2 separate regions of the Homo sapiens genome follow, and region 2 is linked to region 1. Evidence: promoter capture Hi-C in human tissues and cell types (Jung and others, 2019). All regions are on one chromosome and are shown on one strand. The core of a region is centred on a gene start or on the middle of the fragment in contact, and the rest is flanking DNA. Distances in the headings are between cores, read along the strand shown.

What was found. The method cuts DNA at HindIII sites, captures the fragments that hold promoters and counts their contacts. A contact is called where the count stands out against the background at its distance.
Region 2: a contact is called between the fragment with the promoter of ZNF185 here and the fragment with the promoter of CETN2 in region 1, in 1 of the 25 tissues and cell types used here (adrenal gland).

Annotation. Positions count from the first base shown.
Region 1 is chrX:152,828,044-152,832,437 of GRCh38, forward strand. It overlaps CETN2 (centrin 2), which reads right to left and starts at 2,714. Exons shown (of 5, transcript NM_004344.3): 1 at 2,665-2,714; 2 at 1,559-1,717; 3 at 1,106-1,234; 4 at 494-631. The coding sequence starts at 2,667. NSDHL (NAD(P) dependent 3-beta-hydroxysteroid dehydrogenase NSDHL) reads left to right here and starts at 3,020. Exons shown (of 8, transcript NM_015922.3): 1 at 3,020-3,074. RefSeq lists a silencer at 2,614-2,953. The HindIII fragment of the contact is 5,705 bases long and covers 1,106-4,394 here.
Region 2 is chrX:152,895,736-152,900,057 of GRCh38, forward strand. ZNF185 (zinc finger protein 185 with LIM domain) reads left to right here and starts at 2,332. Exons shown (of 25, transcript NM_001395254.1): 1 at 2,332-2,503. RefSeq lists an enhancer at 1,584-2,084. The HindIII fragment of the contact is 26,007 bases long and covers 1-4,322 here.

The DNA.
Region 1 (4,394 bases), core at 1,464-3,963:
AATTCCTGGCCACAAGAGATCCTCCTGCCTCAGCCTCCCAAAGTACTGGGATTATATGCATGATCCACTGTGCCTGGCAAGCAATAGACTTTTAATCTATGTGAATAGATAATTTGTATCTATGTGAATAGATCATTGTAGTCCACCCAATGCCAGTATGCTACTCCTGATAATAGCTTGGTTTCTGAAAAGTTATTTGAAAACCAACTCATACTTTGTCAAACATATCACCTGGGAGGGACCTTGAAGATTGCCTTGACTAGAGGGATTCCTGGAACCTAAAATAGTAAGCAAAATTGTGCATATGTGCATTTTTCTGGAAGCAGGGTTCATAGGTTTGTCTGACTATTAAAGGAGAATTAAGTTGTCTGCAGAGGGACAAAGTACACTGGCTTTTCTTCAAAGAGGTGCTCACACTAGGGAAAATGTAATGGAAAAGTCACAGAGGGCTCAAAGGTGGGAATTTTAAGTTCCAGTGTGATGCATTACAAACCTGCAGCTCCTCATCAGTCAGGTTCTCACCCAACTCCTTGGCCACGCGTTTCAGATTTTTGAACGAAATCTTCCCAGTTTCATCATCATCAAAGAGCTTGAAAGCTTTCAGGATTTCTTCTTTAGTATCTTTCTCAGACTTAACAAGTAGAACATAAAACACATGAGTAGGGGGACACCACGGTTGGTTACTACTGTCCTGTAGCCCTGCCACTGCCTGGTCAGGTCACCCTTTCCTTTTTAACAATGTAACTCGAGTCTAGACTTGCGGCAAGTGTCAGGAAGCCCATTTTGGCCTCAAAGAAACACCAGGCAAGCCAGGCACTCCATCCAAGGTGACGTTTGCTACCTATCGCTATATCTCTCCCTATCCCATATCTATTTCCTAACTGATTTGGAATTCTGTGGGAAGAGGTATCTGCTTGGAAGTCTTGAGAAAGAAGCACAAGGGCTTGTTTTGGGAGCCCAAAGTAACATGATGGGAGGGCAGGCCTCCTGATGCAGTTGCTACCTGGACTGCTCTGTGGTCACATGACTGTTTTAACAGGAAGACGCCATGGACCTCTGCAGATGACTGGGGCTCCATACCATGATAATTGTCTTAGCTACTTACCATTTTCTGGGTCATCACAGTTAAAAAGTCACCAAAGTTCATTTTTCCTGTCCCTTCCTTATCAATTTCACTTATCATTTTCTTAATTTCTTCTTTCTTGGGTTCAAAGCCCAGGGCCCTCATTGCCACCTATAAAGAAAACAGGATCGTCTCAATAAGCACATCTAAAGTAGCAGGAGCAAAAATAACAGTGTTGAGAGCATTAAGCCAGCATCTGATGTGGTCATGTTAATATGATTGGGGAACACTATGACATTGATCTAATTGATATTTGCAATCAATTTTATTGAATAATACTCAAAGTAAGTAAAGACAGGAAAACAGCACAGTACAACCTCCCCTGTTACTTACTGCAGGGAGAAGAGGGCAAAAGGGGTAGAGAGGTGATAGGGAGATGACAAGGAAGAGGCAGAGGAAAGGAAGGGCAGTACGGCAGGAATGCACAGAGCTTGCCTTCAGTTCTTTAACATCTATGGTGCCAGTTCCATCCGCATCGAAAAGATCAAAAGCTTCCCGGATCTCCTGCTTTTGCTCTTCAGTAAGCTCAGGCTTAGGGCTCATTCTTTTTCGCTGAGAACTTGATGCCATGTTTGCCTTCTTAAAGTTGGAGGCCTTTATATGTTATGCAATACACAAGCACAATAATATATCATACAGTCCATATTTACATAACATAGTTACAGACACCCATATGTATTTTTAAAGTCATTTATATAACCAATTCCAAAGCTTTGCTTAAAAAGAAAGATAACAGGGTTTACTGGCAAGAACAATGAATCTTTCCATGAACTTCTACCCCTCCCTTTTCTTTACTGTTGTTTCTAGAAGCAGGGAGATCACTTGTTCAGTAAGGACACCTCTTACTGAAAATCATCCCAAAAGAGAGCCAGTCAAGAAGATGACTGTGAATAACTAGAGATAATCAGCTCTTCCCGAACGTGGGGATCCTGGTTCTGAAAACAGTCTTACGATGCCCACTCCCAGTACTCCCCTTCCCAGTAAGTACTCCGACTTCCCAATTACTTCTAGATTTGGCCAAATATTAGTAAGTTGTTAAGATGTATATTGTGTCAGTACCGAGTAATAAAACTCAATCCATCTGGCACCTTCGTGCCTTCTCCAAGAAGCTAAAGCATCCCCTGAATGCCCCTGTATTTAAATTGTAAAAAACATTGTAACAGAACACGATACACCTTTTCCCAGCTGTGTGTGGAAATTTTGGCAGAATGAGGAGGCCAGGGGGCCAAGGTCTGAGAGAGTCAGGGGCCTGTGAGGGATTCGAGTCTTTTTTGCCCAGGGAGGTTCACCGAGGGGATCAGGGAATGCAAGGGGAGCCCGAGGGGCGGGTGTGGGCCTGTTGTGGGTGAAGAGGAGGCAGCAGCGAAGCGCAGGCCCAGTAGGTTGGTTAGCGTCTGTACCCTACTCTCCCGGGAAAGAGCTCAAAGGAAAGACTGGTGCGCTAAAGCCGAGAAAGGCGCAGGAGAGGCGGCGTGGCCGAGCTGGGGCCTGGGAAGGGCTCAGCCGCTGGGCGTGGGGCGCGACAGAGCGGCAGCACTCACCATAGCCAAAGGAGTCCGCTGCCGGTTGTTAGGCAACCGACGTGTACACTGACTCGGCGCCGTTCCCACCGCCCCGCGCGCGCAGCCCCGCTCCCCATTGGCCGTCCGCTCGTCGCCGCCTCTCCCTATTGGTGCAGGGCCGAAGAGGGTGGGACTAACCTGGCAAAGCCCCGGCCCAGCGCGGGGAGGGGCACGCTGGCGACAGAGCCCCGTCTTTATTGGGCAAGATCACGCCGTGAGCGCCAATTGGCTGAGTCGTCGCCGAGCTGGGCCAATCCTCTTGGTGGAGGAAGCTCGGCTGATTCTCGGCTCACGCGGGAGGGGAGTAAAGGGTGGCGGTCCGGGCCTGGAGTTCAGTGGGTGCAGCCTGCTTGCGAGCTGAGGCCAGACAGGGGGGCGCCTACGGACGGGTAAGAGTCGTGGCCTTGCCATTGGAGGTCACCCTGTGTCAGCGACTGGGCAGTGCGGGAGGGTGGGGAGCTACGGGGTCGCCCGGGTCGGGTGCTTTCTGGGTTGACCTAAGGCTGAGTTTAGGGACCGAGTGCATCAGAGCAGCCAGAAACGATTACCTTGCGTGTTGGAGCAGGGACTGTACTCACGGGGCAACTGAGACCCGGAGAGGGGAAGGGGTGTGCTGAGTGTTGTCGCAGAGGTCGGACGGCTGGGACCTAGGAACTGAATCCAGCCGAGGCTCGCTCTTTGAGGGTGGCCCTTCGAGAGCACCCCTAGACTGACCCAGATGTATAGGCCCCAGACCAGGTTCCAAGAGAGGATCACTTTAGATCTTACCTGGCTAAAAGCAGCCCAGGACGGTGAACTGGGGCCTTTGGGAACGGACTTTGAAAGGAGTGAGGGGGATGTGAGCGAGCATGAGGGGCGGGGAGAGGTCATCAAAATATACTCTTTTTGACACCCACACAATGCAGATAAGGAGGAGCATTCCAGGCCGAGACGCCCTCATCAGCAGAGTCACAGGAGTTTTGGAAGTGAGAGGTATGCTTGGAGAATTAAAAGGGAGCGTGTGCAAGGGCTGTGGACTGACATAGACCTGCAGAAGTGGAGCTGGAGGTCCAGTTTGCCCTCTTTAGCTATCCCCGTGGCTTTTAGCCTTCACCTGTTTTTCCTCCAGGCATAGGGGCAGTAATCTAGGGAGACAGAGGGCAGAGAGTAAGTTTCTCAGACAGAGAAAGGCCCGAGGCTTATTAGAACCTTTTAAATGGAGCTGCTGCCCTTTGCCCTCTTCTCTCTTCAGCAGTGAACAGATTCCTGACTTTTGGGTCATCATCATCCCCCCAAGTAGTACGAGCCAGAGTTCTCACTGTGATCTCCAAAGCTTGGCACGACGTGTCCCCTTCCATCGCTCCACAACTCTTCTCTCGTCTGGCTCACTCCAGCCCCAGAACACTGGCTTTGTGGTTGAACCTCATGTGCCAGCCACACTCCTGCCTCTCATCTTTGTCTCAGTTGTCCTCTCCGCCTGCCTCCTCTTAGGCACCCTATTTAAGTATTGCAGCCCCCAGTACAAACAAGCCACTCACCTTGCTCTACTTTTTTTTCCAACAGTTCTTATCCCCTTCTGACCTACTGTATATTTTGCTTGTTTGTTTTGCTCTTTGTTGTCCCTCCACTAGAAGGCAGGCTGTCTGAGGGCAGGCATCTTTGTTGTATTCACTACTGGTACTCCAGGACCTAGAACAGAGAGGGGCACATATTAGACAACTGATGAGTAG
Region 2 (4,322 bases), core at 1,082-3,581, 67 kb after region 1:
CTGAAGCCTGGCTGAGGTGACTAGAGGTGCCCTGGCAGGCGTGGAAGTGGAAGACTGTTGGGGCAATGGACAGGTGGGCAGGGCAGGGCAGGGCAGTTACCATTCAAGTCAAACCCGTTTGCAGGCAAGATCAGCTGCAGGGCCTGGCAGCCTGGCAGGGAGGGAGGGGTTCAGGGAAGGCTGATCTCTTTGGCTGGAGCAGTCGTGACAGATCGGGCCTGGGCAGAGACTGAGTCACCTGGGACATGGGAAGAGCTTGAGGCCCTGGGGCGGCCCAGCCTGGGGCAGTCCTCACTTGCTGGCCGTGCCGTTGGACACCACATTTGCTCATGCTCTCCAGCTGGGCCCCCCACCCCTGACTCAGGGCTCTTGAACAAGTTTGCCTTTTCCCTCTTCCTTGCCCTACATCTCACCCATCATGATGTCTTCTACCTTCTACCCTTTCAAACTAGGGGCTCTTGAAGAGGACTGGGACCCAGACAAAGAGTATGACACAGCCTAAGTCATACAGTAAACATGTTTAGGAGGTAAGATGCCAAGCCAAATCCATGGCCACCAGTAGCCACAGTGGAGGAGGGGAGGTGTTAGTTGCTGGCCACCAGACAGGGGCATACAATATTGGAAGCAGAAAAATGCTTGTTGGCAAGAGACGGACATGAACAGAAGTGACTTTATATACAACCCCCTAAGCACACACAGGGTCGCCTTCTCCCTATCTCATGAACCCCAAGAAGAAAAGGATGAGGACAGCTTCCACAGCCTCACTCACCCATCCATCACTTCCTTCTGCAAATTCTTCGGATGCCCTGTGCTGGTCTCCGTGACCCAGTGATGAATCAGAAGGGGCCCTGCCCTCCCAGAGCTCAGGATCTAGAACAATAGAGGGTGACAGCCACTATGCTGGATTGATGTCATCTGAGGGAACTAAGGGGTGCACAGAAGGAAGTGATCAGCTCGACTGGGTGGCAGGCAGGGGAGGCTTTCCGGACACTGGGTGGAGGCTTGAAGAATGACTAAGAGCTCACTAGCCCGACGGGGATGAAGAGCATTTTAGGGAGTCCGAGGAGCAGGAGCAAACACCCCAAGGTGAGCGCCATGTGATGTATTCAGAAGGCAATGGAAAAAGGCCAGTGTGGCTGTAATGTATTGAACAAAGGGAAGAGTGGCTGGACCTGCAGGGATAGGTCGTCTCAAGGAGTCTGGCTTTTACCCTGAGAGCAATGGGAAGCCATGGAGGAGTTGCAAGCAGGAGAGCACCTGATCATATTGACACACGTGAACTTTTAACCTGACCTCCGTGTAGAGACTGAGGGAAAGGAAGGCAAGACCAGAGGCAGGGGGACACCAGCAAGGAGGCTGGTCTTCGGGGCCAGGTCTGGACTAGGGTGGTGGCAGCAGGCACAGGGAGAAGTGGGTGGACTGGAGGGCCATGGAAACACCACATTGGCAGGCCTTGATGAAGGAGAAGCAGCTGGTCCATTCTTTTGAGCCTACCACCCTGGTAGGCCAACTCCTGGCCAAGTCCATGCCATTTCTTGGGCTGGCTTAATTGTCTCCCTGTTTGGGAGGCCGTGGGGTGAGGGGTCTTTCCTCCATGCTCTCTCCATCCTTAGCCCCAGCCCAGGGCCTTGCACACAATAAAGCACTCGGTGAGCACCAACGCGTGACACAGGTACATCAAACCGCATTGGCTCTGGGAGTCTGGCTGTATCTCGTCGCCCAGCCTGGGAGATAGCCCCGTTTGCTGTGCCTTGTGAGCCCCGGGTCCGTCCCAGGATGGCCTTCCACGATGAGCGGCTCCCTCACTCTTCTCCTCCTTTCCTGCCTGCAGGACTTCCTGGATGATCTCAGCCGCCAGCCCCCCGCCCCCCTCCCCGCCCCTGTCTGGGATCTCCATCTGTAAAATGGATCTAGGAACGGTAGTTCTCGACTGAATTAACCCGACAGCATCTGTGGAAGTCGTTGGCCCTGTGCCGGGGCCAGATCGCGCAACTAGGAGCGGGGGCCCTTCACGTGGCGGAGGCTTCCCGGCCTGGGGGCCACGGGCCCGGAGGAATTTGCCTGGAAGTTTTCCATCACGGCAGAGCCTTCTGGAGCTCGCCCCGTGCTCGACAAGGGGAGCCCCAGACTTGATTTCTCCAGCAGCCCCGCGGGGCGGGGCCGAGAAGGGGCGGGCGGGCGGAGGACGCTGGCGGGAGAATGTGCGGAATGTGCCAGGCGCCTCTACCTACCCCAGGAGGGGCAGAGGAAGGGGCCGGCCGAGGGGAGGGGCGAGGGGCGAGGCTCCGGGCGGCCGGAGAAAACCTGTTTGTTCTCCTGCGGGCGGAGCCCAGTCCGCGCCTCCTCGCCTCCCTGCGCGCTCCCCGCTGTGCACCGCGCCCCGCGCCCCGCGCCTGCCTCCCCGGCCCGGCCCGGCCCGGCCGGGCGCCGTCCACCCGAGGGAGCCCGCGCCCTGCGACTGCCCGACCCTCCACCCGCCCCACGAGCCGGGCACCGGTGCCAGGTAGGGCTGTCGAGTCGCCATTGGATGCGGCCCTGCTTGGAGGCAGTGGGGGGCACCCAGTCCGTGCCCAGCTGGGGACAAGTCAGGGCCTCAGTTTCCCCATCCATAACCCTTACCAGCTCCAAGCATCTCTCTTCGGGTTCCCCCCGGGAGTCAGTGGATTTCTGGTTTTCGCTGTGAGTGAAAAGACTGACAGGCAGAGGAGGCCAGCGTCCCCTACAGAGGCAAGTGTCCCCCTTGCCAGCCTGATCCCTCTGTCTTGCCCTTTAGGAAAGACACGGTTTAATTGTTAGTAAACGGCGAGGGGCCAGGATGCTCTGAGAGTTGACTGCAGGCCTTTAAGAATCAGGGAATCTCATATCCCTCCGTCCCCCTGTGCCCATTTTATAGATGAGGAAACTGAGACCCAGAGGCTGGCTCACCCAGAGGATCCCCTCAATCGCCCTGGGGCCTGTGAGGTGCATGTGCTGGGTACAGGGCAATCTTGGGGAGGGCCATGAGGATGGTGGCTGCTCACACTCAGACAGAAGGCGCCGAATCAGGTGTCACTGGGTGTTATCGACAGGATCGGCACTGCACCAGCTCTGTGGCTGGATTGTTTTGATGGGGGCAGAGGGAGCCAAGAGTCTGTCCTCTTTGGAAAGGCAGAGGGATACCTTGCCTTACAAAAAGGCCGAAAGCTCAGGTGCTCCTGCCTGATCTGCCACTTCTGAGCTGGGGACACCTGGGTACTCTGTCGGTTTAAGGGGGTGACACGTCAAGCTGCCTCCCACCCAGGGCTGCTGGGGACTCAGATAAAGTAGGTGGTGGGTGTGTCCCGGCTTTGGGACATCTGAGGCATGGTAGGAGTTGTGTTCTTGCTGAGCCGTCGGCACGAAGCCTTGGCATCATGGGAGGCCCCAAAGCTGTGAGCCCCGAGAGAGGGCCTCTCACACCCCATCCAGCAGTGCTTGAGGCTTCAGTACCTGGACTAAGTCCTGCCTTGGTCTCATGGCCCTTCAGACTTCTGGCTGTCGTACCTGGCTGGGGGCGGGAGGCAGGGGTGCACAGGTTGATAGGCCTGAACAGAGCTGCAGAGGTCCTGCCTTCCCAGGGCCTCCGCTCCTCATCTGAAAAACAAGGGGCAGCTCAGAGGCCAGCAAGTGGCCAAGACACAGATGCACAGATGAGGGGCCAGCCTTCTGGCAGGCCTTGGTGCCTCCGCTGTTCCCCTCATCGCTCCCAGGCCACTTCAGGATGGGAAGGAACAGATCCCTCTCACCTGCCCCTCCTTCCAGCAATTCCCAGCCCCTGGCTGGATGCTGTGCATTCAGCCGTGTGGAGCTGATGGAAGGCACTCAGTGCAGGGCCAGACACGCAGCAGGTGCTCAAGATCTGTTCATTTCCATCCTCTGGACACTCATGACTCAAGCAACAGAGGTGGCCCAGGACCACTTAGGATGTTGCAGCTCCGAGTAGCATGAAAACATTAGGGGTTCCTCAGTCCTGGAGCAGCGAGGCACCCCTGGCTGGGAAGATCAGGGAAGGCTTCCTGGAGGCGAAGGGCTTGGAAGCAGGAGGAGGAGCTCGGCAGCCACCAGGTCAAGGCCCGCACGTCCTTTGGAGCTGCTGGAGTCTAACCTCCCCGTTACTCCTGAAAGATCATAAACCACTTCTTGCTGAGCTCCTGCATATGGGGGCCCACAGAGAAATCAGCTCCATGCCTTGCCCTGAGGAGTGACAGAGAGGCCATCTGTCAGTAAGAAGTTGCCATCTGAATCCAAATGGCAGCAGTGCTTGTCCACCTCACTTCCTGCTCAGCTCAAGTCCAGACTCCAGA